Regions from separate parts of the Homo sapiens genome. Here all the other regions are linked to region 1. Evidence: promoter capture Hi-C in 16 types of primary human blood cells and fetal thymus (Javierre and others, 2016). All regions are on one chromosome and are shown on one strand. The core of a region is centred on a gene start or on the middle of the fragment in contact, and the rest is flanking DNA. Distances in the headings are between cores, read along the strand shown. Region 1 holds the start of CCDC152 (coiled-coil domain containing 152). Region 2 overlaps OXCT1 (3-oxoacid CoA-transferase 1). Region 3 overlaps LOC102723752 (a long non-coding RNA gene). Region 4 has its middle 13 kb from the start of RIMOC1. Region 5 overlaps RIMOC1 (RAB7A interacting MON1-CCZ1 complex subunit 1). Region 6 overlaps FBXO4 (F-box protein 4).

What was found. The method cuts DNA at HindIII sites, captures the fragments that hold promoters and counts their contacts. A CHiCAGO score of 5 or more calls a contact.
Region 2: a contact is called between a fragment that was not itself captured here and the fragment with the promoter of CCDC152 in region 1, in 1 of 17 cell types (naive B cells). The highest score is 5.1, in naive B cells.
Region 3: a contact is called between a fragment that was not itself captured here and the fragment with the promoter of CCDC152 in region 1, in 4 of 17 cell types (monocytes, M2 macrophages, M1 macrophages and 1 more). The highest score is 7.8, in monocytes.
Region 4: a contact is called between a fragment that was not itself captured here and the fragment with the promoter of CCDC152 in region 1, in 4 of 17 cell types (M1 macrophages, monocytes, M2 macrophages and 1 more). The highest score is 9.2, in M1 macrophages.
Region 5: a contact is called between a fragment that was not itself captured here and the fragment with the promoter of CCDC152 in region 1, in 2 of 17 cell types (M1 macrophages and monocytes). The highest score is 5.6, in M1 macrophages.
Region 6: a fragment that was not itself captured here is called in contact with the fragment with the promoter of CCDC152 in region 1 in 3 of 17 cell types (M2 macrophages, monocytes and M1 macrophages); the score reaches 7.0 in M2 macrophages.

Annotation. Positions count from the first base shown.
Region 1 is chr5:42,753,856-42,759,081 of GRCh38, forward strand. It overlaps CCDC152 (coiled-coil domain containing 152), which reads left to right and starts at 2,963. Exons shown (of 9, transcript NM_001134848.2): 1 at 2,963-3,030. RefSeq lists enhancers at 3,018-3,519, 3,520-4,019. The HindIII fragment of the contact is 10,296 bases long and covers 1,781-5,226 here.
Region 2 is chr5:41,822,564-41,827,789 of GRCh38, forward strand. The region is part of intron 7 of OXCT1 (3-oxoacid CoA-transferase 1); the gene reads right to left. Among named protein-coding and RNA genes, the nearest start is that of OXCT1-AS1, 45 kb to the right of the region's middle. The HindIII fragment of the contact is 797 bases long and covers 1,556-2,352 here.
Region 3 is chr5:41,872,977-41,878,202 of GRCh38, forward strand. It overlaps LOC102723752 (a long non-coding RNA gene), which reads left to right. Exons shown (of 3, transcript XR_925956.4): 2 at 4,278-4,419. Among named protein-coding and RNA genes, the nearest start is that of OXCT1, 5.2 kb to the left of the region's middle. The HindIII fragment of the contact is 2,742 bases long and covers 738-3,479 here.
Region 4 is chr5:41,888,982-41,894,207 of GRCh38, forward strand. No RefSeq gene overlaps it. Among named protein-coding and RNA genes, the nearest start is that of RIMOC1, 13 kb to the right of the region's middle. The HindIII fragment of the contact is 2,246 bases long and covers 2,287-4,532 here.
Region 5 is chr5:41,912,466-41,917,691 of GRCh38, forward strand. It overlaps RIMOC1 (RAB7A interacting MON1-CCZ1 complex subunit 1), which reads left to right. Exons shown (of 6, transcript NM_175921.6): 6 at 4,551-5,226. The coding sequence ends at 4,834. Among named protein-coding and RNA genes, the nearest start is that of FBXO4, 10 kb to the right of the region's middle. The HindIII fragment of the contact is 3,721 bases long and covers 1-3,477 here.
Region 6 is chr5:41,930,092-41,935,317 of GRCh38, forward strand. FBXO4 (F-box protein 4) reads left to right here. Exons shown (of 7, transcript NM_012176.3): 4 at 3,855-3,930; 5 at 4,042-4,217. Among named protein-coding and RNA genes, the nearest start is that of FBXO4, 7.4 kb to the left of the region's middle. The HindIII fragment of the contact is 4,396 bases long and covers 3-4,398 here.

The DNA.
Region 1 (5,226 bases), core at 1,713-4,212:
TCAGCAGTTGGTGAATTTGATTCAAAGACAAAAAGCATGGCCTAAACAGAGGTAAGAATATCGAGAGAGTTAAATAATAGGGCTGGAACAAAGGACTCCATAGATTAGCCAAACCACTTATAAACATTTGCTGTGATATGGGAGCAACACCATAATATTTTGTTGTTATAATATGCCGGTGATAGTAACTAAAATAATCAAGTGAGATTCCAATGCCAGAGCAATATTGCCAATAACATACACTAGATTTCAATCCTCTGCTAGTCTCTCCTTTGAGACTGTAAGCTCCAAGGCAAAAGGAGAGTCTCTTATTTGTCTTTGCTCTCCTTAGTGCCTAGACTTGCAGCAGCTGATGTTTTGTAAGTACTTAAATATTTTAGAATGAATTAATGAGTGAAGCTGTTTTCAACCTAAAAAAATCAATGTATCACTCATTTTAAGATCTTTATGTACATAAACCGGTAGCTTCTGATTTTTTTTCAGCTGCCCAGGTACATATGCATTTCTCTTCCAAATCAGGGTATTTTTAATGAATTCCAGTGTTACTTTCTTTGTTAGTATGACAAAATAATGTAGTTTGTTTCTCTATTTTGGTTTTCCAGGCAGTCTTAAAATATATATTAAATAAATCCTTGATCTATCAGAAAATAAATATTCTCTTTTTTCCCAACTTTTATTTTGGGCTTGGGGGGTACATGTGCAAGTTTGCTACATGAGTAAATTGCATGTTGCTGACATGTGGTGTATGAATGATCCCACATCCAAGTAGTAAGCAAAAATGAATATTTTCTGAGCAAATATTTGATGAATTCTGTTTCTCAGTTGGATGGTATCTGAAGAATAAGACTGTGAATACAACTGTGAAACACATTCACTTTTTAAAGATGAAATCATGACAAGTTCATTTAGTTTCTCATTGAAAGATGCACTCTAAACCTACTAGAATTCTTTGAAAAAAATGCTAACATCTATAAACTGGAAGATAAACTTGCAACCCATTCTAAACTAGAAAAATTAAGCTAAACTTTTCTGACTTATTCCTGATGTGTTGGTTCATTTCTATTTTCTCTATGGTAGGCTCTATGGAGAAATATATACATATACATATATATGTGTATATATATATACATATATGTGTGTTTGCATATATACATATATATATATATAATATTCCAACTTTCTTAGTCTCTACATCCCAAAATCATTAGATAGTCAAAGCTTCTGTATTTCAAATGTTGGAACATCCAGAAGATTTGGAAGTACAGATGAGGCAGGGGATCTAGGGAGCTCCCTCTCCACCTTACACATTCCAGTCACCACATATTTTCAAAGGACTCCTGAAATTTGCCTAGGATGGGCCTAGGTGGAACTTAATACATACATACATACATACATACATACATGCGCGTGTGTGTGTGTGTGTGTGTGTGTATATATATATATATATATATATATATAAAGAAAATAGAGTTTCTTCCCCCAAGGAGCCAATAATAAATACAGCAAAAGAGGTAATACATCAATTCAGTCTTAACAAATGCCACAGAAAGCTAGCATGTTCCATAGAGTAAGGAAAGGTAGATCACAACTGATTGATACGATCAGTGAATGACTCATGGAGAAGGTAGCATTTTAGCATTTAGGGTCTTAAAATGGGCTTGTTTCAAAAGTTATTATGACATGAGTTACATGGAACATTTTATATTTGCTAATTGGGTAGAACCCGCAATTCAGCAGGTCATTTTCAATATTTCTATGTGTTGCTACTAATGTTAGGGAAAGCTTATTTGAGCAGCAGAGTGAAGACTACAACCCCCATTTTCCACTTTAACCTAATTTTCTTGCCATTATGCCACACTACCTTTCAACTAGTAAAGTATGGGTTATCATATTACTGTTTATATTTTTTCACTTGCCAAATTTTGGAGTCTATCGAAAAATCACATTAACAAAAATAAACCTCCCATCTCCCACTCAGAAAAAAAAAAAAAAGCAGATGAGCAAAGTTGGCAGTGGATTCGCTTTCAAACTATTACTGAACAACATTCAAAAATTCTAATAATTAACATTTCTGAACACTTACTTTAAGCAAGGATCTCCATTAAGCACCTTATAAATGCATCACTTCATTTAATCATCACAACCGTCCTAAGAGGCAGGCTTCTTTTTTTTTTTTTTGACTGAGTCTTGCTGCTGCGGGTCTCGGCTGGAATGCAATGGTGCGATCTCCGCTCACTGCAACCTCCGCCTCCCGGGTTCCAGCAATTCTCCTGCCTCAGCCTCCCAAGTAGGTAAGATTACAGGAGCCCGCCACCACGCCTGGCTAATTTTTGTATTTTTAGTAGAGACGGGGTTTCACCATGTTGGCCAGGCTGGTCTCCAACTCCTGACCTCAGGTGATCCACCCCCCTCGGCCTCCCAAAGTGCTGGGATTACAGGCGTGAGCCACAGCGCCCGGCAGAGGCAGGCATTATAATTAATCTCTTATACAGATGAAGATGCTTAGGTGCATGAAATTAAGAACTTACCCACTATCACCCACGGAAAAAGAGAAGAGTTGGGGTTTGAATCCACGCAAGAGCCCACGCCCTTAATCATTAAGCTACCAAGATATAACTCTGTAGATGGGAAACCATATCTATTAACTGGCTCTGGAATTTTAAAAGGCAATTTTATAAGTTACAAAAATAGATATGGATAATTATTTATTCAATGGAGCTGACTCACAATTCAGAACACCCAATGTGATTTATTCTTTGGTTGGGGAAACAATTATTGATCCGGTGTTGATTCATGTTCTGGAAACCACATGAAAATACCTAAGCAGCCGCAGATGCTGAGCGGAGCTGGGCCAAGTTGGTAAGAACTGCTGGTGGTAGGAGCTCCAGCATAGCGCACAGGGCGGGCCCAGAGAAAGGCGGGCCCATTGTTGGGGGATTCGGCTTCCGGAGGAGGGGACAGCATTCAGGGGTGTACCAGGCCCCAGAGGCAGCGGAAAGGGAGACTGTGGGGAACTAGGAGCAACAGCAGGTACACTCCAAATTCTATTGACGGTTCGAAATTCCCGCTTTCTCCATAGAGATTCCTTTCTTCATATTTCATTACAGTGCTCTGGGTCCATTACAGGCTTTTCTTTTCAGACACCTCTCTCACATCCGCGGGTCCTCGGCCCCCATCCTTTATTTTTGCTAGGCCGCTAAGGACGCTAGAAAGCGATTCGAAACTCCCGCTTTTTCCATAGAGATGCTTTTCTTCTTATCTCCTTACAGTGCTCTGGGTCCATACAGGTTTTTGTCTCAGGCACTTCTCTCACATCCGCGGGTCCTCGGCCCCCATCCTTTATTTCTGCTAGGTCCCTAAGGACACTAGGATGACGGAGAGGGAGCCAGGGGACCCAGGCTTCAGGACTGAGAGTGAATTCTTGAGGGGAGGTGAGGAGGAAAGAGGAGGGACCAGAGCGTGGGGCAGGCGAGCGGCGAAGGACCAACTGTGTGGGGTAGGGGAGAGGACGAGCCCCGGGACTCAAGCCAGCAGACAGGAGGACCCAAAAGGAAACGGAACTGTCACGCTCCTGTGGGGATGGTTGAAGCCAGCAGGCAAGAAGACAAAGAAGGAAATGGGACTTTCACTTGCCTGTGGGGACGGTTGAAGCTGAGCCTTGAAGGTCACAAATCAGTCTCTGCGGCTCACTAAGGAATTTGACAAGCACTGAATCACCAGCTTGACACCGAATTTCACAGGGCAAGACCATATTCACTGAAAGGATCTTGACCTAAGAAATCAGAAGAGCAGGCAATGAAGATACCTAGAAATGAATTGCCTGGCTCTGCCATTATGGCAAAAGGGATATCATGCAACGATAGCAAATGGAATATTAGTGATGGTTTTACAAGGAAATAACAGGGTCTTCTTTGGGGGAAGGAGTTGAGAGAAAATCAAGCTCAAATTTAAATGCATTTATTTCAAGAGCCAGATTCTGAGACAAAACCCTAGTAAAACCTTTTTTATTTAAAAGGTTAGGTACCAAAAAAAAAAGGTGGGGGTGGAGGGAGTTTCCATTAACTACTTCAGATTACTATGTAGCACTATTAAAGAATAACAGTACTATCAAACAGCAATTATTTTTAATTTTACTCCAAAAGGAATTTTACTGTATCATGGGAGGCTATTAACAAATATTTTTCTGCTGTAAGGATCAAGTTTTAACTATTTAAGGGATTTTATATGTAGTTGTGCTTGCATATGTCATACATAAGATAATAATTCGAGATAATAATTCAAGAAACAAAATATACAGCCAAAAATCTGAGATTTAAAAACCATTAATAATTGCTAATGCAAAATATTTCAAAAGAAGAAAATGAGATATCTTGATGAAATAACATATTGTCAAGCAATATCTGTTTTGGTTAACTTCCTTTTAAACAATAATATGCCCCCAAATTGCTTTGAGTAACTACATCAGGAATTTTACTTACATTTTACTTTGGACTAGTTACCGCTTTCACACACCATACATTGGTTCATGTTTTTTCCTCAACCTAACATCCCTGAATTTCAAACTTGTATTTTCCCTTTCTTCTTTGCTATAGAAAAATCTAAAGACAAGTGTCTCATACTTGTTTACATTACATCTGAAGATGTAAACTCATCCAGTCAGAATGGATAAATTGACTTTTGCAAAATAGCCAGCATTTACATTCTGGGATTCTGAAGAAGTTCTTATGATTGATTTCATAGGACTAAAACTGAAACTCTTATTCTTCAGCAGTTAGCTGGCTATCCCCAAAGGTTAATCCCTTATACAAAATTACAAGACAATAGAAATGCAGAGAGATTGCTTTGAGCACATTAACTTCCATGCATCTTTTATTTACCAGTTTACCAAACAAAATATAAGAAATAAGCATAACAGCAGAAAACATCTGTGACATGATAGTTAAACAAGTATTTTTAACATCTTTAATTAAGAATAATTACAGTTAAAAGTCATGCCTCAGATTTAATATTGCATTAGGTTTTAATGCAGTAAAGAAACAAATATAAATAAGTCAACTGGGGTGTGGGTGGTAAGGAGTGGAAAAGACAATGCATTTGACCACTGTTAATATTGGTTATAACAAAAATTCTCGCAGTGCAATGGAGCCCAAGTAGGTGCCCTATGAGTTGAATATAGAAATGTTAGTATTTGAGCTATGAACACTATTGTGGTGCTTTAGATCTTAT
Region 2 (5,226 bases), core at 704-3,203, 930 kb before region 1:
CCCGGGTTCAAGCGATTCCCCTGACTCAGCCTCCCAAGTAGCCAGAATTACAGGCGTGTGCCACCATGCCCGGCTAATTTTTGTATTTTTAGTAGAGACGGCGTTTCACCATGTTCATCAGGCTGCTCTTGAACTCCAATCCACCTGCCTTAGCCTCCCAAAGTGCTGGGATTACAGGTCTGAGCCACCGTGCCCAGCCTAATTGCTCCAGCTTTCTTTTGATTAATGTTAGAATAATTTTTTACATTCATCTCTTTACTTGTAATTTGTGTCTGTATATTAAAGTGGATTTCTTATAGACAACATACAGCTGAGTCTTGTTTTTAATCCACTGTGAGTCTTAATTGTTCGGACCAGTAATGTTCAAATTATTTAGTCGGATTAATATCTACCATATTTGCTACTATTCTCATCATTGTCCTTGTTCTTTATTCTTTTTGCTCTCCACTCTTTTCTGCATTCTGTAGTTTTAATTAATCTTTTTCATACAATTCTTTTTCTGCTTTTTTTGTTACACTTGAGTTTGCAATATACATTTACAATTAATCCAAGTACTCTTTCAAATAACACTATATCACTTCACAGGTAGTGCAAATATCTTAAAACATGGTATCCCCAGCACTTGTCTCTTATAACATTACTATCATTCATTTCACTTGAAGGCAGGCCTTGTTAAAAAGAGAACGCTCTGGGTATATTTCAAAATGTCCACTTTTCCCCCCTCCCCTTGCCAGAAGCACAAGGAAATTTTCCTTTGGTCTTCACCAAAACTCTGGTAGGGATCCTAGACATAAAACTCACAGAAATATGAAGCCCCTCCCAAGACCAGACCACTCTGGAGTCTAACTCTCAAACTTGTCCACATGAGCCTCCAACAATTCATCAATTACAGTTTGAGCTTTTCTACCCCAGGACTGGTTCCCATGGAGATTTCTGCTACTAGGCTTCTGCTCCAGTCAGTTGTGATTCTCCGTATTAGCCTGTCTCTCTCCAATTTGGGTGGCAGTGGTTTGCCCTGTGACTTTAATCCTCTGACGGATCTAAGAATAATTGTTGATTTTTCAGTTTATTCATCTTTTTTCTTATTGTGAGAATGGGTGTGGCAACTTCCAACCTCCTGGCACGTTAGGCCTGAAATTGGAAGTGGCTATTTTTTAAATAATCATTACCAGTAGTTACTATATAGAATCCTAAAGTTTCTATCTTGAATTCAAACAACTATATAATACTATCTACCTCATTTTCAATTGGGGGGAAAAAAACATTCTGTCTTCCTAAATGTGAAGGTTCTCATTTTACAGCTTTTAGGAGATTATCCTATTTCATATTTTCTAAAAGGTTAACATTACTGAACAATTCTTAATTTTGCATTTATGAAAGTATTAACATTATCCTGGGGCTACACTAAGTTAACTGAAAAATTCAGTCAGCTAAAGGTCTATGAGCCTGCAAGTAAGGAGACTGTAAATTAGATAAAAATGTTAACATTGCAAAGCATAATGTAAAATGCACCTCAAAATATACCAACCGTCATTTGTTTTTGCTTCAGAACATAAGCTTTAGAGGCACAAAGAAATGTTTAGATCTTAACTCTTCCCCCTACCAATTTTGTTATCTTAAAGTCTTTCCTTATCCTCATTTGTTCTTCTATAAAATATACACAATAAAACCTACCTCACTGGGTTACTATAAAGTGCTTTACATGTAAGTGCATGGTATAAACAGAAGTTGTTGCTATTGTTGTTTTCATAATTATTAGGCTATATATCTCCTTCAACTTATATTACCATTATTGAAAATATTTCAAGTATAGCATCTACCACACTCTGTGTAAAGCACATCTTAGCTGTATAGAGTCTACTTGGACCATTTCACTGCCCCTATTTCCTGGGAATGAATTTCATTAAGAAAGTTTTCCATTCCATTTTCCTATCTCCTTATAAAACCTAGTCCTCAATTTACATATAAAATATTACCTTGTACATTAAAAACATAAACCAAAGAGGAAAAATAAGTGAAAACATTTTGAGTGCAAACATATTCAGATGCCAAGAGCACTGAACAAAAAACTATAAATAAAACAGCAGCTAAAATACTTTTTATAGCAGAAGCTGAGTTATAAAAATGTCTTTCAGATTCTACTTAATACTACTTTTATTTCTAAAGGTCTAATTCCAATTCTAAGAAGACAATTCAAGATGAATGAGTTTTGTAAATTCCTCAGAGAAAGTTAAATTACACCAAAACTTTCAAACTCATTCTTAATCTCATAGCTTTTTATAGTTAACCTGTATTCGCCTGAGTTTGGTAATAACGATGAAATTTTCTTCTGAGTTTTGTCTGTGTCGGCAAAGCTTTTCCAAAATTTAAAGTGAAATTCAAAACTGAACAGAACTTTTTCACAATACATGGCAAAACTTGTATCCTTTTCTGCAACTATTAAGGAAACTAAAATAGATTCTTTAAATGAATCACCCAGATCCTTTTCACAGAAGGCACAGAAAAGGTAGCAGGGTTCTTCACATTCCAGTTTAACTTTCCTCAGGTAGGATTTGTATTTAGAATTCTCTTCGAAGAACCCAAATATGTTCTCAGTGGCAGAAACACTGTATATTATCATTAAACTTCAAAGGCTGAATAAGAGAGAAGGTGACCTATACTTTTGGACATGAGTGGTTGAAGAATCTGAATGTGGACTTTGTTACTCAGTGGCAGAAACACTGTGTATTATCATTAAACTTGAAAAAGCTGAACCAGAGAAGGTAAACTCTAGTCTTAGACATGAGTGGACTTGATTTCTTCATGGAATAAACCACAGAGTAGAAGACCATTACATTCTAACAGTTAAGTAACTCTTGGTTCCTAGTCTTAGGAACTGTTAACTGTTTTAAAATATTCCATCCAAAAACAAAAAGATATTTTCATAATTCTATAAAAATTCAATAAGGCAAAGCTATCATAAGGAAGAAAAGAAAACACTTCCTTCCACATAACTTACATTTTGGACCTTAAGTCCCTCTGTGTTCAGGGAGTTGTATGCCCACAGGTGAACAGAAAGCATCAGTATCTGAGGCCCTCTTTATTTATGTCCCCAAAAGAACAACAGATGTGACTTTCATTCAAAAGAAGTCATATGGCTCTTGCCTCCTCTCTCATCACATGATCTCTTTGTGCACACCCACTCCTCCTCCAATTTAGGCCATGAGTGGAAGCAGCATGAGGCCCTCACCAGACACAGCTACCCAGTCTTGGACTTTGTACCCACTAAAATCATGAGCTAAGTAAACTTTTCTTTCTTAAAGAATAAAAAAGTCACAGTGGTTATTCAGCACAAGCAAGTTTTAAGCAGGAAATAACTTTAATCTTCATCCCAAACCAAAATATGTGAATCTTTTGAGCCAAAGTATAAAAAGAGATAAAATGGGTCATTAACTAATGCTCCATATTTCAAATACAAAGGCAGAGAGAGGTCATCAATTTGAGGGTGTACAACTCAAGCTATGAAGTGACAGATTTATAAGAACCTTGCTCTCGTGAAGGTGTCCATAATATTCCCCTCAAGAGTCATCACAGTTTTTGCTTGATGTAAGGTATCAGCATGTTTAAGTTGATTTTATGGACTTCAAATATTGGTTAGTTTTCTGAAGGATTTAAGCTAACAATATTTTTAAAACAAAATTTAGTTTTTTGATCATGCACTAAGATTTTAGGAATCGGAGGCATTATGGAATTTTTATTTTCTCAGATAAAGAACTTTGGAAGACAGGGAAAGGTTACAGAGGATGTGCCTTGCCAGCTGCCATTTACAATGTAGTTCAATAGTCATCATCACTGGGTCAATGAGAACAGTCATCTAAGGTTTATTAATCAAAGCAGCGGGAGGGATTAAGGTGAGCATGTAGCATTTTTAAGCTTTAGAAAACACACTGGAATGCTCTATCCCACTGATGCTCAAAATAAACCCATGAAATAAGCAAACAACAGAGGCTGTAAGGAAGACGAGATTCTAAAGTCATTTGTCTAAGGTTGCAAAAGTAGTGAGAAACAAATCTTAATCTCATATTCTGTTCAAAAAAAAAATGAAAAGAAAAAAGATAAGCCTCCTCAGGATTAGTCCCAGAGCTTCTTTCCCTAAGTGATCTTTTCCATTCCATAACCCTAACTCAAGTATTTGTGAATTATTCCCAATTGTATAACTACCTTTCCGACCTCCCCTCTAAGCACTACAATAATATATCCATCTGCACCTGCGTCACCACCATTTGAATGCCTAAGAAGCCAATCAATCCTAAGCGAGCTCTTGATTCACTCCAACAGGATCATCCCAGGTTTCCCCGTCTCAGTAAGTGATGTATCATTGCTCAAGCCAAGTGTAGGAGTGAATCTCTACCTTTCCTCTATCCAAGCTCTCCACATCTAAGGCCTGGGCATGTTGGATAGATTCCTCTTCCAACATACCGTATCTCTTAATGCTATCCTCCTCTCCACCACTCAAGTCCAAGCCACCATTCAAGCTCTCACCCAGATCACATCAGTCTCCTCATTGGTCTGCCCCTTTATGCCTCTAAAGTCTGTTCTACAAACAATACGCAAGCTAAAATTATGACCTTTCCAAATGCACTTAAAATCCAAGCTCCTACAAATGCCTATATACCTACCTACATTCAGATTTTTATAATTCCTACTTATACATATCCAGAAATAAAGCCTCGATATTGTCAGAGCAACCAGAAAGTCATAGAGAGACTCAGGACTTAATCCAAGTCTTCCAAGTGTCCTTTACATGCCATTCAACTGCCCAGTCATCGAGTCCAGGAAATTTATCTATGTCAGTTTTCTCATTTACAATATTGTAATAAAGCTGCTTCTCCTCCAACTTCACCTGGTGATTAGAGGATCCGATGAGATACTGTATGTGAAAGTGATTTGAAAAGCCCAAAGCATTATGCAAAGTAATATCAAACACAAGATACTGCGGAAATGGTGCTCAAGTGTGAAGTTCTGAACACTGTTTATAAGAAAGGGGAGTTAAATGAATCTAGCTAAAATAATTGACTTGCCATTCATCACTAACCTTGGCTGTTTCAATCCTTTTCTGCTGCTTAAGAGGATCGGTGCAAGACAAGAAAGCACATTGCTACCCTGGGTAAACTTCCTGATTTGAGGCTTTACCTTACCAACAAATAAGAAATAAATAAGTCTTACAAAAGTGTTTCTGACCAAAAA
Region 3 (5,226 bases), core at 859-3,358, 880 kb before region 1:
CTCCTCTGCATGCCAGAGCAAGACTCTGTCTCAAAATAAAAGAAAGAACAGAAAAATTTAAATACACAAATAACTACCATTATGTTACAATTGCCTACTAAATATTGTACAGTAACATGCTGTACAAGTTTGTAGCCTAGGAGCATAAGCCATACCATATAGCCTAGGTGTGTAGTAGGTTAGACCATCCAGGTTTATGTCAGTATATTCTGTATTAGCACAATGACAAAATAGCCTAGCATCTCATTTCTCAGAACCTGTCTTTGTCATTAAGCAAGGCATGACTGTGTGGCACCATTTTATCAGATACATGCAGGTAATGTGTCAGAGTTTATTAGATTGTAAATTATTCTCTGTTTTAAGGAGTTTCATTTTAATTCTCCTAAAATATGATGCATTAGCATATCTCATTAGTGCAAGATATGACATCCTATTCTCACAGTTGATGGTGTACTCCCCAGGATGATAACCAGGGGCATCTGAAGACTTGTTTTTCAAATGTTGATTAACTGGTTTCACTAGAAATAGCAGTTTTTAAGTAGGTCATTTGAGTCACTTATAAAAGTGCATGCGTGCTTCATTTTATCACAATAGTCCTTTAATATATGGAGAACATAGTCCTTCAAACAATTTGCTTCTAGTAGGTTTGAAGGACATAAATCTGAAATTTCACATAAATCTGTAAATCTAAGTATTGTTTTATAGTGCAAGACACCCATTAATTTGCATATTTTGCAAGCTTATTTTCATAGATCCTTTAAAGGAGTCCCTTGTATTAACTAGTGTGTATTTAATATTTGTTCAATGATTAAAGAAAAAATAGATTGATTTTTATAAAGTGTAGTTTTCTCAGAAAAAAAGTAAAATAAATGCATGAGATACTTGGAGAGGGCTTAAGGCCTGGAATGAAATTGAAAATTATGATAAGATACTAAGGAAACCTAAAAGAGTAAAATGCACCAGAGTGATCTTGTATACATTCAAGACTGATCACTTTATTTCTGCTTAAAACCTGTCATTGGTTTTCCCCACTGCCTTTGAGATCCAAAGTTCATACTTAATAACATGACATAGAAGAGGATCATCTCTTCTGGTCTTCCTTTCCCCCACACGTCTGCTTTATATTTCAAACTATATGTGCCTCTTGATTTTTACACAGTGAATTTGCACAACCTCAGAATCAAGTGTTGACAGCAAAATAATAAAGAGCAGGAATTCTGTGGTTAGGCTTCTAGGGTTCAAGTCTCAGCTCTGCAGTCTCTAGCTATACGGCCTTCTGTGGTGCAGTAGTTAAGCAGGGCTTACAGAATGTCAAGATGTAAGGTAATCTCTAGATCAATATTTGCATTATTCAGGTGTTAAAAGATTATACATTATTAATTATTTCCCAGATGCTATCTTAGTCCATTCTTGCTGCTACAACAAAATATCTTAGGCTGGGTAAGTTACAAGAAGAAATGTATTTCTCACAGTTCTGGAGGCTGGAAAGTCCAAGATCAAGGCACCAGCATATTGAATATGTTAAATTAAATTAAATTTGGCCAAAAGCTGCTTCCATACTTTGGAATTCTGCATAGCAAACTGCACCTAAGTTAGTGTTTAAATAAACCTTACTTAAGAGTATGTTCTTGTAACAGATAGCTGAGTCTCAGCTAATTACAGCAGCCAGGTTTCATCCAATCACATACTACCAACTAATAAGACCATGTCCACATAAGGCAAATGCCACATTGCATTGTGCCCAAATAAGGCAAATGCTGGGCCATAATCAATCAAGCTGTTTCTGTACCTCAATTCCTCTTTCTGCCTATAAATACTGCCTGCTCACATTGCTGAGTGGGGCTTTCTGAACCTCTACTGGTTCAGAGTGCTGCCTGATTCATGAATTGTTCTTTGCTCAAATAAACTCTGCTAAAGTTAATTTGTCTAAAGTTTTTCTTTTAACAAGGGTCTGATGAGAGCCTGTTCCTCATAGATTATACCTTCTCTGTGTCCTCACATAATGGAAGGGGCAGAAGACATAAACAGTTCCCTTGTACCTCTTCTATAAGGGCACTAGTCACATTCATGAGCTCTCATGATTTAATCACTCTGAAAAGCCCCATATCTTAATACTATCACACTGGCAATTAAGTGTCAACATATGAATTTGGGGAGGACACATTCAAACCACAGCAGGTGCTTTGGTTACTGAAAACATAAAGTAAACTGAAAAATTTACTTAATAAACTGAAAAAAATAAGGCAAGATTCAAACCCTGGACCATATGTTATTAAAAGCTGCTATTTCTTTATACCTCCCTCTTTCTGAGATATCTTTGAATCTTACCCCAACTCTCCAGTTTCACTCATTCTGCACTACTTCAGGGCCTCAGTTTCAGTTTCTCTCATCTGAATTATTTCAGTTTCCTTCCAAATGAATTTCCATTCTCCCTCAATTTAAACATACTTAAAATTATTATTTCAAATACAGGATCTGGTCTTCTCACATCTTTTTCTAAAATATTTCAAGAAATGCTCAAAGGCTGCAAGTGAAGTCCAACATTCAATTATAGGCAAGATTTTGTTTAATCTAGCCTCAACAAATCATGTGGCCTTAAGGGCTCTGCAGAGGTACTTCAGGGGCTATGCAAACATTATATTTTGAAATTAAATTTTAGATTACATTTTTACTATTCTATCAACACTAACAAAAGGAGCATGCACACTCAATTGTGATCTATCTTTGATTTAAAAGTATTAAAAATTACCAGATTGTGGCTGGGCATGGTGGCTCACACCTGTAATCCCAGCACATTGGGAAGCAAAGGTGGGCAGATCACCTGAGGTTAGGAGTTCCAGACCAGCCTGGCCAACATGGTGAAACCCCATCTCTACTAAAAATAAAAAATTAGCCTGGCATATGGCACATGTACTCCAAGCTACTCTGGAGTCTGAGGCAGGAGAATCACTTGAACCTGGGAGATGAAGGTTGCAGCGAGCTGAGATTGCACCATGTACTCCAGCCTGGGTGACAGAGCGAGATTCCATCTCAAAAAAAAAAACAAAAAACAAAAAAAAAAAAACAGACCAGATTGTGCAGTTGGGAGACAAACCTTAGATTAAAGGTTCCTCATCATCAAATTTCCTATATTTGAATATATAAAATATGTCATTGATAAAGATGTTTGTAGCTCTGTATTTATCTTTTTATCATTTAGACCTCTGCATTTTGACTCACTTAAATTTATATAAGTATATAATACTTTGAGGCTCTGGTCAGAGACATGTACTGCCTAGAATTATTTCTTATCACAGCATTGTAGTTGTTCAAAAAGAGCATATAAAACACTTCATGATAATATTGTACTATAAATAGTTTTAGAGATTATTTTCCATTTTGGCTACATCTTGTCTGACATTTACATATGTGAACAAGAGGTAATTGACATTATTAGTTATTGACCACTGAAGCAAACATTTCCTGCTACTTTTCTTTCAAGCTTCTGATCTACTTTAATTGAAGCATATACTGAAATTCTGGGACAAGCTGCAGTGTGAATCAGAACTTTCTTATTATTGTGCAGCCAAACAGAAATAAAATAAGCAAAATATCAGATATAACTCCATGGCTGCAATATTTAGCTTCTCCGAAGAGCTTCATTATTCTCATTTTTTCCATGTATAACAGGAAAATATTTCACAATTAAAATGATAAAATGCATTTAAACTGTAAAGTACCACTTTTACACATTGTATATGTTGGGTTCTAAATACAATTTTATTTGAAAGGGTGACTCATATTAAATATGTTTGAAAATTATGGCTTTAGCTAAATTCGACTACTTTCTGCTCCCTGCACATACCAAGCACCTTCTGACAGGGAGCCTTTGCTAAAGCCTTTTTTTCTGTGCCAGCTGAGCAAACTCCTACTCCTCTTTCAAGACTCAGATCAAATGTCACTCCTCTGTGTACCTTGACTGTTCACACTCCGAATTCCACCTCTTAAAAAACTATATTCTTTTACTTTGTGCTCTCAGGGCCCTTGGTCACCTGGATTATGAGCTTATTAAGTTTTGTTCATTTTTGTATCTATAGTGTCCTAGGATTTCTTTTAAGCATAGAGCAGTTCAACAAATATCAGTTGTGTTGACTTGACTTGGGTAACCCTTTTTTGCTGCCTTAATACAAGCCATGAACTTAACCTGTGTCTCTCAGCTCAGCTCTTTAAATTGAATACTTTCTTTCTAATCATGATGTGATAGTAGTAATTATTTACATTTTCATTGTCTTTTACAGCTTACTTTGTGCTCACCATCATCCTTTGGCCTTTCTTCTCTAACACAGTTCCTGTATCCAGCCTCATGCTTTGCTGTGCCTGTAACTGTCTTCTCCCCACAGATAACCTGTCATTGAAGTACATGAAGAAAATAGTCAAATAGTGAGTTACAAATTGTACTTCCCTCTTTCAAATGGTCCCTGTTTCCCTCATTATTATTTTCTTCCCTTGTGAATATTCCATTTGGTTAAATCTTTTTCACAATAAAGTAACCCAAACCAAGTATGATATTTTGGCTACATGATCCCGCTGTTTATGTTCCCAGACAACCAGTAACACCTGCAATAATACATTTCAAAAAAAATACTGCCAAGAGATTGTGACACCCTGGCTCAGTAGAATACATCAGGGTCACTTATAAATATCCAACCACAGAGAAATGATTCATTACATTATAGTGCATCATCTTGAAAAACTATTATGCCACTATTAAAAAGTAAAAATTTCAAATTGTATGTGGAAATGGTTAGGATAAGGGTAAAAGTCAGAATTCAAATTGTATTATATAAGGATTACAACCATGTATTATATGTTTTTGCAAAATAAATGAAAAGACCATCTAAAAGTGAGGAAAAAATCAATACAATGAGGGCAAGAATTTAGGTACTTTTATTTAAACTATTGTACAGCTTTTATTTAACTTTTAAAAGCACTGGACATATAGTTTTAGTATGAGAGTTCTAAATATACATGTCAGATGTATATTTGGTTGCTTGAAAGAGGTATTTGCACACCAATGTTCATTGCACTATTCACAATAGTCAGAATGTGGAAACAACCTAAATGTTGATAAATGGATGAATAGATAAAGAAAATGTGGTATATACATACAACAGAATACTGTTTAGCCTTAAAACAGAAGAAAATCTTGCCATGTGTGACAACATGGATGAGCATTGAGGATATTAT
Region 4 (5,226 bases), core at 2,160-4,659, 860 kb before region 1:
TCATGCTTAGCTTTACATCCTCTAAACTAAAGTTTGGGAAGACAAACATTCTTTCTTGCCAGATCACTTATAAGTAAATGCGTGTACCCATCAAATCATTGAGGTATAAAGAAACAAGATACCCTCCGTCTATTACCCTGCTGGATATTATCATCTAATCCAGAGGTCAACAAGATTTTTCTGCAAAGGACCAGATAGCAAATATTTGTACTATTATGTGCCATACAGTCTCTGTCTCAAGTATTCAACTCTGCCTTTGTAGGACAAAAATAACCATAAATTATATGTTACAAATTATGCAAGGTTGTGTTCTTAGAAAATTTTATTTACAAAAACAGTTTGGCTGGATTTTGTCAGCAGGCCATAGTTTACCACACTTAAATTATAATCCATCAAAATAAACTTTTTTAGAATGTGGAATATTAAGGTTCAGTCTCTGCATAAAAATCAACAACCAGAGGAGAGACTTGTGCACAACAGTATGAGGATCTCATGGACCCACTCCCTAGGGAAATGGGTTAAAATTATTTTTTGAAAGACTCAACTGTATAGAGTTTCTGAAAATGGCCTAAAAGACATGTAGCAAATAAGAAATGTTTATTCCAGAAAATCTGTAAAAATCTGGCAGAGCAAAACCAAACACTGACATTGGCATTTGCAGCCAGAGAAAGTGAGGCATTTATTTCAGGACTCCAAGCACGGAGAATCAGGTAGGATGCTTAAGACCAGAATTCCTCAGTGGCCTACATGCAGGGGTTTTAAAGGCAAGGAGGCAGAGTTACAGGCAAAGCCATAACTCAATACATGGAGGCTATACATCTATTTGGTCTAAAGAGGTGGGGCATCTTGCAGCAAGGGGTCACACGTTATTGGGAGATTTAAAGATTCTCGGATTTGTGATTGGTTAAAGAAGCGAAGGTTTGTCTAAAAACTTGAGGTCAGCAGAAAGGAATATTATGCTCTGGACTTTGGGCATGACTGTCCAGGATCCGCAAGAAGAAGTTTAGAACAAAGAACAGTGCTCTAAGTTCAGTCTTCAGTTCTCACTTATCTGAAGTCTGTATGCCAACAGATAGCATTTTCCATTTTGTGGAGGTCTAGGTTTCTGAAAAACAATTCAGGAACATATGTTAAGGTGTTATCTTTAGTTTCTATAGGGAAGCAAACATTTTGTGACTCTAATTTCCTTCACTGTTGTTTTAAGCTACCTTCTTGTTTATCAAGTTGCTCATTTACTACTCAAGGCTAGCTAGGTCCTTGGAATTTTCCTTGAAGGAACTCAAGATTTTCCTTTATTACCATGCTTATGGGGGCGTGGAAGGCCCCTAAAAAGGGTCTTTGCTCCATTTCAGGTTCATTGATGATAAAAGCTGTAAACCAAAAATAAAATTTTAAGTCCCACAACTAACTTAATGGACCTCCCTTCCAACTAAGGGGATTCCAAGGAAACATGAAAAACTATTAATAGTTGAGGCCAAGATGGCAAGAGAGGGAGTCAGACATGCTTCATTATACCCTCTCCCTTTGGGAGTTTAGACACAACTGAACAGCGTTAGCATTAAAAATAGAGATCCTAAGACTGACAGAGCAGACTCTTTGTAGCAATGTGTTACCAACTCAAACCTGATTGTGGTATAACATCATATGATAGATAAGAGGCCCTAAAAGAAATAAAAGTATTTTACTCCAAAATGTATTTCTTTTTTTGTTTTTTTCTTTTTCTTTTGCTCTGCCAACCAGGCTGGAGTGCAGTGGCACGATCTTGGCTCACTCTAACCTCTCCCTCCCAGGTTCAAGCAATTCTCATGCCTCAGCTTCCCAAGTAGCTGGAATTACAGGCCCATACCACCACGAATGGCTAATTTTTGTATTTTTAGTAGAGATGGGGTTTCACCATGTTGGTCAGGCTGGTCTCAAACTCCTGACCTCAAGTGATCTGCCCACCTCAGCCTCCCAAAGTGCTGGGATTACAGGCATGCCACCACACCTAGCCCCAAAATACGTTTCTTTAACATATTTTGGAATAGTCCTGCAAGTCTGCCTCATGTGGGGAAAACATACATTCTATAGAAAATTCCCTTCCCTTTCCAGGTATTTTCCTGATCTACAAGTGATTTAACAAGGAGTCTGAAAACTTTTAAGGCCCAATTAGAGACATTTACCATCTATTCCCTCTGAAGCCCAGTACCCGGAAGCTTTATCTACATAACAAGAACCTTGGCTTCTATAACCTCCTTTATCTTAACCACAAGCATTTCTTTCTGCTGACTTCAACTCTATAGGCAAAGCTTAACTCTTTCAACCAATTGTCAATCAAGAAACCTTCAAATCCACCTATCACCTGGAAGCCACCCCCATCCCTTGGAGATGTCCTGCCTTTATGGGCTGAACCAATGTATTCTTTACATATATTAGTTTATGTCTTTGCCTGTAACTTCTGTCTCCCTAAAATGTATAAAATCAAACTGTAACTCAGTCACCTTGGGCACATGTTCTCAGGACCAGAGGTAGTGTTATGACTCAGAATAAACCTCATCAAATATTTTTCAGAGTTTGACCTTCTCTGTCAACAAAGCAAAAGGCAACTGGAAGGTGATTAGTAGTTTCATTGGAGATATAAGGTAAACTGTAGGTCTGCTAGTTTGTTGGAGAGAACCAGAGGAAGAGGCAGCTGTGGGGAGATCACAAGGGGTCAGAATAAATCTCAATAACTGACGACAGGAACTATTCCTTCAAAGGAGCCCCTTTAGATTGATTTGGTCTGTGGAGCTATTTATGCCCTCAAGGCATTGCTGGAAACAACAGAACACTAACTAGAAGTTACTAGTGCTTGATAGTTAAGATGTGGTCAGGGAAAGACATAATCAAAAAGTGACCTAACCACAGCAACTGTCATCTAAAAGTGACTCTGAAAGTATCACAAAGGCTGGGCCCTGATGGGCATCAGAGGCTTCACACTGGGGCTTGGGGGTTGTGGGGATGGATATAAATTCTGTTAAAACAATGCTGCTGGTCACTAAGCAAATAGCAATAACAAAGTATGGGCAGGGGGTGAGAACAGCACTCAGAGTTGCTACAGTTTATTACCTAAAATGTTGAGTTTTCAACAAAAAAATTATGAGACATGCAAAGACACAGAAAATTATGATGCTTATAGCAGGAAAAAAAAATCAGGCAACAAAACTGCCTGTGAGAGTAACCAGATGTGAGATTTCAATAGTAGCTATTATAAATATGTTCAAACAACTAAAGGAAATCATGATTTAAAAAGTAACATGAGATGACCATGTCACATCAAACAGAGGTTACAAATAAATAGAAACAGGCCAAGTGCAGTGGCCCATGACTATAATCTCCCAGCACTTGGAGATGCCAAGGCAGGAGGATTGCTTGAGCCCAGTTGTTCAAAACCAGCCTGGGCAACAAAGTGAGACCCTATCTCTACAAAAATTTTAAAAATTAGCCAGACATGGTGGCATGCATCTGTAGTCCCAGCTACTCAGGAGGCTGAGGGAGGAGGATCACTTGAGCCAGGGAGGTTGAGGCTGCAGTGTGCTATGATCTCACCACTGCTTTCTAGCATGGGTGACAGAGCAAGACCTTGCCTCTAGGGAAATAAAAACAGAAATAGAAATAATAAAAGAGAACCCAATGAAAATAATGGAATTTTCAATAAAGTATAATTTACATGAAAAATTCATACAGGGGCTCAACAGTAGATTTCAACTGATAGAAGAAAGAATTTACAAACTCAAGCATATATCAATAGATTCTACAATCCAAAAAATAGAAAGAAAAATAAACCAGGAAGAATGAACAGAGCCACAGAGAAATGTGAAAAACATAGGGCAATGACGTATGTATAGTGGAGGTACTAGAAAGAGAAGAGAGAGAAAAAGGAGCAAAAAATATTCAAAGAAACAAGGGCTGAAGCTGGGCGTGGTGGCTCACACCTGTAATCCCAGCATGTTGGGAGCCCAAGGTGGGCAGATCACTTGAGGCCAGGAGTTCAAGACCAGCCTGGCCAACCTGGTGAAACCCAATCTCTACTAAAAATACAAAAACTAATTGTGCATGGTGGCATACGCCTGTAATTCCAGCTACTTGGGAGGCTGAGGCACGAGAGTCGCTTGAGCCTGGGAGGCTGAGATTGCAGTGAGCCAAGATCACACCCATTGTACTCCAGCCTGGAGGACAGAGTGAAAATGTCTCAAAAAAAAAAAAAAAAGGAAAGGAAAGGAAATGAAGGGGAGGGGAAGGGAGGGGAAGGAGGAAGGGAAGGGAAGGGAGGTGAAAGAGAGAGAGAGAGAGAAAAGGAAAAGAAAAGAAAACAAAAGAAAGAAAAGGTTGAACACTGAAGAAATTTATTTATTGAAAGGCAATCTGGACAACCAGGAAGCTCAATAACTCTAAGCAGGAATAGTGTAAAGAAATCCACACAAAGACACATCGTGATAAAAATAATGAAAGTCAAAGATCAAGAGACAATCTGCAAAATATCAAGAGAAAAATGACTTGTCACTTACAAGGGAAGCTTAGTGATATTAAGAGCTTACTTGTCAGCAGAAATAGTGGAAAACATAAGATAGTGGTATAACATATTCAAAGTATTCAAAAAACAAGGTCAATCATGAATCCTACACCCAACAAAGCTGTCTTTCAAAAATGAAAGCAAAATAAAGACAGACCTTCCCCAAGAAACAAAACTGAAAATGTTTACTGTTGTCAGACTTGCTATATAAGAAATAATAAAGGGAGTTCTTCAGGCTGGAACTAAATTACCCAGACAGTAATTGTCAGAAAATATTTGTAAAACATACCTCTCATAAGGTACTTGTATCTAGAATATATAAAGAACTATTATAAGTTGGTTATTAAAATATTAATAACCTAATTTAAAGTGGGCAAAAGATCTGAATGGACATTTTTCCGAAGAAGATATGTAAATGACCAATGAGCACATACAAAGATATTCAACATAATTATTCATCAGGGAAATTCACATCAAAACCAATGAGATACCACTTCATGTGGACAAGAATGGCTTGTGAGAATGGCCACTAATCAAAAAGTGACATAATAACAAATGTTGGCAAGGATGTGGAGAAATTAGAACCTTCATAGACTGCTGGTGGGGATGCAGAATGACGTAGCCACTTTGAAAAACAGTCTGTCAGTACCTCAAAAATTAAACATAGAGTTGCCATATGGCATGCAATTCAACTG
Region 5 (5,226 bases), core at 367-2,866, 840 kb before region 1:
ACTGCTATAAAGATACTACCTGAGACTGGGTAATTTATAAACAAGAGAGGTTTAATTGACTCTCAGTTCCACATGGCTGGGAAGGTGTCAGGAAACTTACAATCATGGTGGAAGGGGAAGCAGGCATGTCTTAAATGGCAGCAGGTGAGACAGAGCATGTGTGAGTGCAAGAAAAACTATCATTTATAAAACCATCAGATCTCATGAGAATTCACTCACTATCACGAGAACAGAATGAGGGAAACCACCCACATGATCCCGTCACCTCCCACCAGCTTCCTCCCTCAACACCTGGGGATTATGATTCAAGATGAGATTTGGGTGGGGACACAGAGCCAAACATATCAAGCCTCTGTCAGCATATTATCAGTACTAGATTTGGCTACTTGTAACCGAATGGAAGTAACTTTTCAACAAGGTAGACATTTAGTGATCTTTCGCACAGTAAAGGTCCAGAGCTGGTACAGTGGCTCCATCTCATCATGTTCTTACCTTTTTCCTCCATTCTTCTTTAAAACCAGACCCCCTCTTCATGGGGAGGCACTTTATATAGAACATAATATAAATGATACTTTCCAGACTGTGCAGCATGCATCTCTGTTTAGGACATTGCTTTTATTCTCAGTATCCCAAGATGTTCCTGGAGCTCCTTCAATCTCACCTGTGTTTCAGGCTACAGGAATGGCAAAAGGGAATTTCAGCCAAGTCTGTTCCTTTAGACCATCATTCTCAGAAGTTTCTTACAACCTCCATTTCACTGGCCAGAATTTAATCAGATTACTTTACTTAGCTATAAGGAAACCTGGGAAGTATAGTCCTTAACCTGATACATTGCCATCCCAAATAAAATTAAGATTCTTTACTAAGAAGGGGGTATTGGGGAGAATGAATACTGGTTGGCAACTATAAATTTCTGCCACAAGCGTCTGTGTACTTGAAAATTCTAGGAACTGAATATAGAGCATCATCTGGGTTTTAGACTTGTGTGTGAGGAGAGAAGAACCACTTACTTTTACCATCTCCTTATAAATGGAAGAACTGAGATCCAGGTAAATGCAAGTGAATTGTTCAAGGTCATATAGCTGCAAGTAACATTAGATCACATGTGTAAACCTTTTTATACTTCATCTGAAGTTTTGATGGGAAAAAAATGAAATGTGAAGAATAATTAGAGTACCTCTTTGGAAATATTCTAGTATATTAAATATGTTTTAATTCTTCCTGTTTCTTTGTTAGCCTCTCCTGGATTGTTCTATTTGAAAGCATTTCATAGAAAAAAAATAGTGATTTAAGTGACCTGATGGCCAAAAATTATTACTTTCTGCTCATTTAGACAAATATTTTATTCTAAAACAACTTATTGTGAATACAAAAAGCTCCCTCAGTGGGCATGACATTTTGACAAACATAGGATATTTGATGTAATTATGGCAAGTATATACTAGTTATTAGTTATTTCAGATAACTAGGAACCAATCAGAGGCATTGAAAATGGCTTTTAAAAAATTTCTATTTATACACATGGACTGATTAAATTGAATTCTTAATGTGGGACACTTTAAAAGAAAAAGGTGGGGGTAGGCACTACAGCTCATTTAGAACCAAAGGGAGTGGCACAAATCACCTGTTTTCCTAATTCTCCCATTTCCAGTTATAAAGTAAGACATTCTCATAACCTGGAGTTTTTTCTTCAGGAAGCATGTAATATTGGTGGCGTCTCTTTGTCATACTTTGAATTTACTAGCTCCTAGTTTCAGTTGGTTCTTCAACAAGGGAATTAAAAGGGTCAGATAGGGTAGCATTTTCCAGGCAAAAAGACACAGTATAGGCACCATAGCAGTTTGCTACATACTGTCCTAAGTCCTCTTAGGGTGTCGGCCTTTTGTTCTCATCTAAAGAAGTTTGCGCTTGAACCTAGGAGGCGGAGGTTGCAGTGAACCAAGATCTCACCACTGCATTCCAGCCTGGGGGATAGAGCCAGACTCTGTCTCAAACAAAACAAAACAAAACAAAACAAAACAAAACAAAACAAAACAAACATAAGTTTGCCTCCTTTAGGAGGCCAAGGCAGGATGATCACTTGAGAAAACTGGCGCCAGGAGTTCAAGACATAGTGAGACATCATCTCTGCAAAAACTAAAAAAAAAAAAAAAAATTAGCCAGGCGTGGTGGTGCATGACTGTAGTTCCAGCTACATGGCAGGCTGAGGTTGGAGAATCAGTTGAGCCCAGGAGTTTGAGGCTGCAGTGAGCCCTGATCGCACAGCTGCACTCTAGCCTGGGTAACAGAGTGAGACCCTGTCTGAGAAAAAAGAAAAAAAGGCTGCTTTGCCCAAATGTATCTATCTGAACACGATTAGATTAGAAGCCAGGAAACCTACTTTTCATAGGCTGAATTACTCCTAAGTCCTAATTTGAGAGGCTCAAATTATTTTTTGTTAGTCCATATAAAATACAATTCTGAGTAATTCTTAGCATTTAGGGAGAAAAGTTCTATATGAGACATCAAATTTTCTGTGGCTAGATCTTGGTGATAATTTACCTAATTTTAGATAAAACTCAAAACTGTGTATGGTTTTTGTTACTTTTTCTAAGGTAAGATAATCATATTGTTGTTTAGACATTATCTGTATATCATTAAATTTTATGCAGTAAGCCCTTGTATCTCACCTCTGAGTCTCATTCTTCTGTGAAATGGGGCCAGAGAATTTTAATCTTTGGACATGGCCTTATCAGATAAAAGGGTTATAAAAATTGCATTGTCAGAATAAACCTGGAATCACATGGAGGTAAATAAAAAACTGTCCAACTTTTACACCCTTTGTTTATGCCCTTAATACCACTGAGGAGCCTCCCACCCCTACAAATCAGAGCTGGTATCACAAAAGGTTGTATGAGTGGGAGGAGTGTGATGAAGAGAGGTTGGGTTAATGGGTACAAACATACAGTTAGAAAGAAGGAATAAGTTCTGAAGGCAAAAGTTTGAGAACCACTATTTATCATATAGCCATTTGTATTAGTCCGTTTTCATGCTGCCAATAAAGACATACCCAAGACTGGGAAGAAAAAATAGGTTTAATGGACTCACAGTTCCTCGTTGCTGGGAGGCCTCATAATCATGGCAGAAGGCAGAAGGCACTTCTTACATGGCGGTGGCAAGAGAGAAGGAGAGAGAAGTGAAAGCGGAAACCCCTTATAAAACTATTAGATCTCTTGAGACTTATTCATTACCACAAGAACAGTATGGGGGAAACCGCCTCCATGATTCAGTTATCTCCCACTGGGTCCCTCCCACAACACATGGGAATTATGAGGGTACAATTCAAGATGAGATTTGGATGGGGACACAGAGCCAAACCATATCACCATTCATTCAGCTATTCTGCTGAGCCTGTTGTTTCTCTTGCTACTCTTTATAAGCAGAAATTGAGGTGAAGTGAAGGTGAAAACTGTAGGAACAAATTTTGATACTTTAAAAAGCTTGCAATAGATTCAAACAGAAACTACCACTATTTTGAAAGTTGAATTTTTCATATCCAGTGCCATCATAGTCACTTTTGTTGAATCATATTAGGTGAACAACAGACATTGTGATGCTCATTTATTTGAAGTAATCTTTTCTAATCACAGAAGCACATTAGAATCCATCATTTATTTTTTCTTCAATGGCTTTAAGAAGTTACATTTTTATTTCTTTTATGTTCTTTAGGAAAATTCAGGAATTAAGTAGGGGATGCAAACTCCTTATTTTTCAGATTTAAAACCTGAGATTCAAAGAGCTTTGGTGACTTGCCCAAAGACACAAAGCCAGTAATTTATACCCAGATCTTTTTTATTCTAGGTTTATTTGTCTTTCTGCCAAATTAATATACTTTATGCACCATAAATATTTAATTATATAATTGCCTACTGGAAAAACTACCCATAAGAAGAAAGAGTTCAACTTTTGATGAAAATTCTGCAGCATACTCTCTTTTTTTCTGGTAATACAAAGCATCTTGGAAATAACACCTTTAATAATTTAAAATTGTATGGACTCTCAGGCATGATTATGCATGATAATTTCTTAGACTTTTAGAGAATATAAGAGGTCTAGGATACTTGACTTTAGCTATATGAATTATCCTAGAGCATACCCCAAAATAAAGGGTGTGTCCATGGATGTAATTCAGGGAGTTTATAAGTACTCTGAAATTGACTGCAGAATTTGGGGTGTATATTCTGGGAGAAGTTCTATTCCTTAAATTAGATTCTCAAAGAAGTTATAGAGTGGACCCCAAAAAGGTCAAAAACACCTAAATGGTTCTCTAAAAAAATTCTCTGGTACTCTGTTTTTCTTTTTGTAATGGGCCTCCTTTATCAGTAAAATCGATATTAAAAAATGCTAATTAAATGAAGATTGTGTTAGTCATATTTGGCTTTTGTGTTACTGTTAAAGTGAGAATAGAAAATGCTTAATGACAAAAGGAACTTTAATTAGAGTTTAGTTAATAACTACGGTTTCTTTTTAAGCTTTTAATTCTAATCTGTCAACCTAAATGACTTTCCCAGGAATATTTAGTGACATTCATCTGCTGGCTATGATGTACAGTGGAGAAATGTGTTACTGGGGATCGAAGTATTGTGCTGATCAGCAACCAGAAAATCATGAAGTGGATACTAGTGTGTCTGGAGCGGGCTGCACTACATACAAGGAACCCTTGGATTTCCGAGAAGTAGGAGAAAAAATCTTGAAAAAGTATGTATCTGTGTGTGAAGGACCCCTGAAAGAACAAGAATGGAATACAACGAATGCAAAACAAATTTTAAACTTCTTTCATCATCGCTGTAACTAGTAAGTTCATCTAGTCCTTTTCAAATAGAAAAACAACAAAACCCATGAAATGGAAAAGAGAGTTCCAAAAAAGAAGACCTGTTGATACTGAATATGAGAACATTACACTGCATAAAGATATCCAGCTTGGGTACCCTACTAAAACAACATCACCATCTTTTTCATTATATATTAGTAAACCTATGAAGGGATGATTCTTTAATTTCTAAAGTGTTGTTCAAACTCACCTTAAAATACAGATGTTATGTCACTAATAATGAGTAGTAACCCAATTTAGCTTTACAAAGATTTTTTCTATTACTTTTTTTTTTTATTGTGGTATATGTAACACAAGTTTACCATTTTTATCATCTTTAGATTATTTTTAAATCTCACTACCTTGAAGTTTGCCAT
Region 6 (5,226 bases), core at 951-3,450, 820 kb before region 1:
AAAGCTTCCTCTTAATTCCTCAAATTTGTACAATCCAGCCTTTAAGATTATGTGAAAATAAATTATTTGTTGTCAAGATGTTGCATTTGTACAGTGGGATATCATATTTATCATGTTTGAAAAAGCAGAAAAAATTGAGCATCTGTGTGGAGAGTATTTTGATATGTATTGGAATTCAAAAGATTTAAATCATCACCTTCCCCTCTTTCTATTAAAAAAAATGCATAAATATTTGGCAAGGCAGGATAAATAGTAAATGTAAGTAATAATAAAATTTAGCCTTTGCTTTACTTATTTATTGAGAGCCAGCCCCTATAAGTGAGATGATAGGGATGCAGATTTAGAACAATGTCTCTGTTTGCCTTCAAGATAGGTGTAGGTGAGGACATAGACAAGTGTACAGATAACTAGAATATGATGTATTTAGTTCCTGGGTAGAAAGGTAACGGTCAAAGAAGGCTCCATATTGATGATGTCTCATATGAGTCACTAGGGTGAATAGTTGTAGGCCATCACAAAAAGACAGTAAAGGTGTTCCAGGCAGCGAGAACTACATTTTTTTCTTTCTTTCTTTCTTTCTTTTTTTTTTTTTTTGAGATGGAGTCTCACTCAGTTGCCCAGGCTGGAGTGCAGTGGCGCGATCTCGGCTCACTGCCAGCTCCGCCTCCCGGGTTCACACCATTCTCCCGAGTAGCTGGGACTACAGGCGCCCACCACTACGCCTGGCTAATTTTTTTGGTATTTTTAGTAGAGACGGGGTTTCACTGTGTTAGCCAGGATGGTCTCGATCTCATGACCTCGTGATCCGCCCACCTGGGTCTCCCAAAGTGCTGGGATTACAGGCGTGAGCCACCGCGCCCGGCGGAGAACTACATTTCTAAAAGCACAAAGCTCTGGATGTAGAGGACACATTTGAAGTATCACTGTGTATCTAGAAAGAGTGGAGCTATGTGAAAAGACACATATGTACCATGCTTAAGCATTTGGGAGCTGCTGGAGGATTTTAAGTAGAGGATTGAGATGATCAAGGTTGCATGTTAGAAAGATTACTCAGGCTCTTGAGTGAAGAATTGATTAGAAGGGGCTAAAGATATGGAGACCCATTAAGAAGCCACTGTAATGTTATGATTAAAATATGAAGAGGATCTGAACTCTAAGTCACTGTTAGTGAAGATGAGAGAAGAGAATGAATAGTAAGGATATAAAATTGACAGAATAAATGTATTAGCAGTAATAAGGATGGCTCCAGGTTTCTGACTTGAGTTTTTTGTTGGATGATAGAGGATTCACTAGGGTAATAAATCACTGGAGAAGTTAAGAAAAATTTGGAAGGGGCAGGTAACAGTAAGATCTGTATAGGGAGAATGGCAGCTATTCTTTGGAATATGTTGACTTTGATAACTCCATGGAAGATCCAAGTAGAGATACCTACTATAAGCAAATCTGCTAGAATGGAAGCTCCATGAAGGTAAGAGTCTTGTCCACTTTATTTTTAGCTATATCTGTGGTGCCAGGCACATAACAGGCACTCTCTGTATATTTGGTGAATGAGTGAATGACTTGATGGATTACTGTATGCATCCAGCTCTCAAGAGCAAGATCTGGGCTAGAAAATCGAGATTTGGGAGTCATACGGAGTCCACATGGACTTGGAAGTTTTTGAGGATGGAGAGGAAGATTGGAGACAGGTGCTGAAATGTTCAGTTTATGTTTGGGGGAAGTGACTATTAAATGGAGATTCATAAGTAATAACGACAAAGAAGGAAAGAGTGCTACAGCTGAATGATGTGTTTCTCAAGTAGAAGGATTTTTTTCAGAGGGTTGGTGAGTAATTGTTTAGATATGGCATTGGGAGTTAAGAGAACATGAATCCCACCTCTTTACCTTGAGTTTTGAGAAAATAAGCATCTTTGCTACTTGAGAGTTCACTGCAGGAGAAGCCTCACCTAGGGGTAGGCCAATTTCAAGTGTGGCTATTAGGTCAAAGGAACACCTCAAGAAGAGGTTGAGGAAATGGGGAAGTTTGATGGTTATAAAATGTCAATTCCATTTTCCAGAGAGCAGCTGAAGTGATTGTTTTAAAATTTCAATTTATGGCTCACACTCAGCAAGACGAGAGAATATGGGGTTACATAATTGGCAAAGAAGGGCAGAACAGTATGGCGACTATATTGGGCTGAAGTTAGACGTGTTGAGAGGGTAATCTCTGGGAGTGCAGCTGATGAAAACAAAGATCAGAAACATGGTAAAGTTTGATTCTGTGGTCTCTGTGAAACATGCACCAGACCTGGTGGCTGGAGGACTAGGATCACATGGCCTGGCATGGTTGCAGTCTTAGTACTTAAGAGCCCTGTGTGTGTGTTGCCTAGAATGATGACATGAGATGGTATGGCATAGCTTATTTAAACAAATAAATTAGTTATAATGCAGGAATTAAGAGTATGAAAGGCTGGAGTTGTCTCTAATGAGGTTAGTAGGGACCAGATATTATGGTTTTATTTCTTCATCTGAAGGGCAATGGCTTTGTAGAGAAGACAATTAGATACCATTATTAAAAAATTCTTCCAACTGATGTCAGAGGAAAGGATAATAGGAGGCAAGAAGATATAGGAGACTGGTTAGAAGTGATTGCAGAGGCCCGGGTGAGTGATGATGACAATGTGAACTAAAGTGTGGTCATGGGGATACAGAGAACTGAACAGATCTAGAAGAACATTTATATAACAGGATGAAGTAGAGCCATGGAAGCCCAGAAGGGTCTTTTGAGGAGGCAAAAGGAGAACCAGCCACTTAGTGTTAACACAGTCCAAGGAGGGAAGAGGTTAAGAAAGAAGGACAAATAACAGTGGCTAATGATTCAGATACAAAGCAGTAAGAAGCTAATATTTAGCACTTGTGGTTTACTAGTCACCCTACTAGGAGTTTTACATGTATGATCTCGTTTAATCTTCCCAGTAAACCTAAGAAGAATATATTAGTTCAACTTCTTTTTGGTGTCAAACTGAGGGATACAAATACATGGCTATAAGTGAGAAATTCAGAATTATAATCCAACTCTGACGAATTCTAAATTTCAGTATCTTCAGTATTTTCTCAATTTACTAATGTTCTCTTGGCAACTCCTCAGTAATTTATTATTATTTTTTGAGACAAGGTCTCTGTTACCCAGGCTGGAGTACAGTGGCATGATCATGGCTCACTGCAGCTTTGAACTCCCTGGCTCAAGTGATCCTCCTACCTCAGCCTCCCAAGTACCTGGGAAACAGGCATGGGCCACCATGCCTGGATAATTGTTTTGTATTTTTTGTAGAGATGAGGTTCTCACTATGTTGTCTAGGTTGGTCTTGAACTCTTAGCCTCAAGTGATTCTTCCACCTCAGCCTCCCAAATTGTTGGGATTACAGATGTGAGCCACTGTGCCTGCCCCCCCCATCAATTTAAAAACAGCTTTTCAGAGGGGGAGAAAGACACTTAATTGAATGTATACATTGATTATTAGACTAATGAGAAACATAAAAATATGAAAATGAGTCTTAGTCTTGAGGATAAATAGTAGTAGCTGTGATTATGCAGCTGCTACTGATAAGATGATAAAGTTGTTGATGATAGTGATGATGATATAAGGACTGTTATAAGCCTTGCAGTTTTTTTCTTTCTCTGTATTTTTATTGTCATGTGAATGAAAGTTACATACGGTATCTTTTCTTCAACGTATACATTTTATTTCAACTCTATGTATAAGTTGTTATAGAATTTTTTCTTTACTCTTTTTGCTTTCACCGGGTAATTTTCAGTGTGATCTTTTGCTATTTTTATTAATGATTTGTTTTGGTAACTGTGATTTTCTTTCTTAGGTATTGGATCAGGAGTCAATTTTCAGTTGAACAACCAACATAAATTCAACATTCTAATCTTATATTCAACTACCAGGTAAGGCTACATACTTGGTGGCTTAACTGAAACATCAGAACTAAAACATTTCAGGTGAGTGGAGCCTGTTTAGTGTCTTTTTATATTCTGTCTTTACAATTTTTTTTCTAGAAAGGAAAGAGATAGAGCAAGGGAAGAGCATACAAGTGCAGTTAACAAGATGTTCAGTCGACACAATGAAGGTGATGATCAACAAGGAAGCCGGTACAGTGTGATTCCACAGATTCAAAAAGTGTGTGAAGTTGTAGATGGGTTCATCTATGTTGCAAATGCTGAAGCTCATAAAAGTAAGTACTCATATGTACATTTTTAAGCACATTGTTCTTTTCAAAGCAAATGGAAAATACCTTTTTAGACTTTACTGTGGCTTCTTAAGAATATGATGGCTTATTTTATCAATGTGATTTTCTGACCCTTACTATTAATAGTGTGTTCTCACACTTTTGTGTGTATTAGGATCACCTGGGAAGCTTGTTAAACATGTTAACAAGCTGATTCCTACCCTGGTGGATTTTATTCCTAGATTTGGGTTGTGTGAATCAGATTTGGGCATCTGTTTTTTCCAAGCACCCAGGGAATTCTGATGCATTCCAAAGTTTGGTACTAGAGCTATACAATATTTTTTTGCTTTATGCTTCTGCATTTTTTTGATACTGACATTTTGTCTGCTTCTGGCTTTATTCAAATAATCTATGCAAATAACTATGAAAAATTTTATCTTTGTTTTATCCAAATAGTAAAGAGATGTGATGGTAGGGTGTTAAGTAGATTAGTTGAGAACACTATTCATATATTCTGAATAATTGCCATTCAGAATGCTATTTTTGTGTGAAATCAAAATATCATTGGGCCATGAGCTAGTATTATAATATCTTTCCCAAATCCTTTGTGAACAAGGTAGAATATAAATACATAATATATTGTATATATATTATAGTTCTCTAATACACTGGTTTGAATTTCTATTCAATTTATTTTCCCTGTGATCTGTTAGGCATGAAAGCAGTTGCAATTACTTTCTGTTATTACAGGGCTATCTATAAAAAGAAAACTTAGAAGCAAAATAAAAGATAAGTTCATTTAACAAATAGTGTTTTAGTTCCTACAGGCATGTTGCAGTTACAATTGGGAACTAAAACAGATATAGCCCCTACTTTTATCTAGTTTTCCAATCTGCTCCTATAAAACAAGCACACAAAAAATAAATTAAAAAAATTTACAAGACACAAAGAGACTATACTCACTTATCAGCTTTTTCCCACTGGCCTCTACTAGGTGCTCATGTAAAAGGTTAGT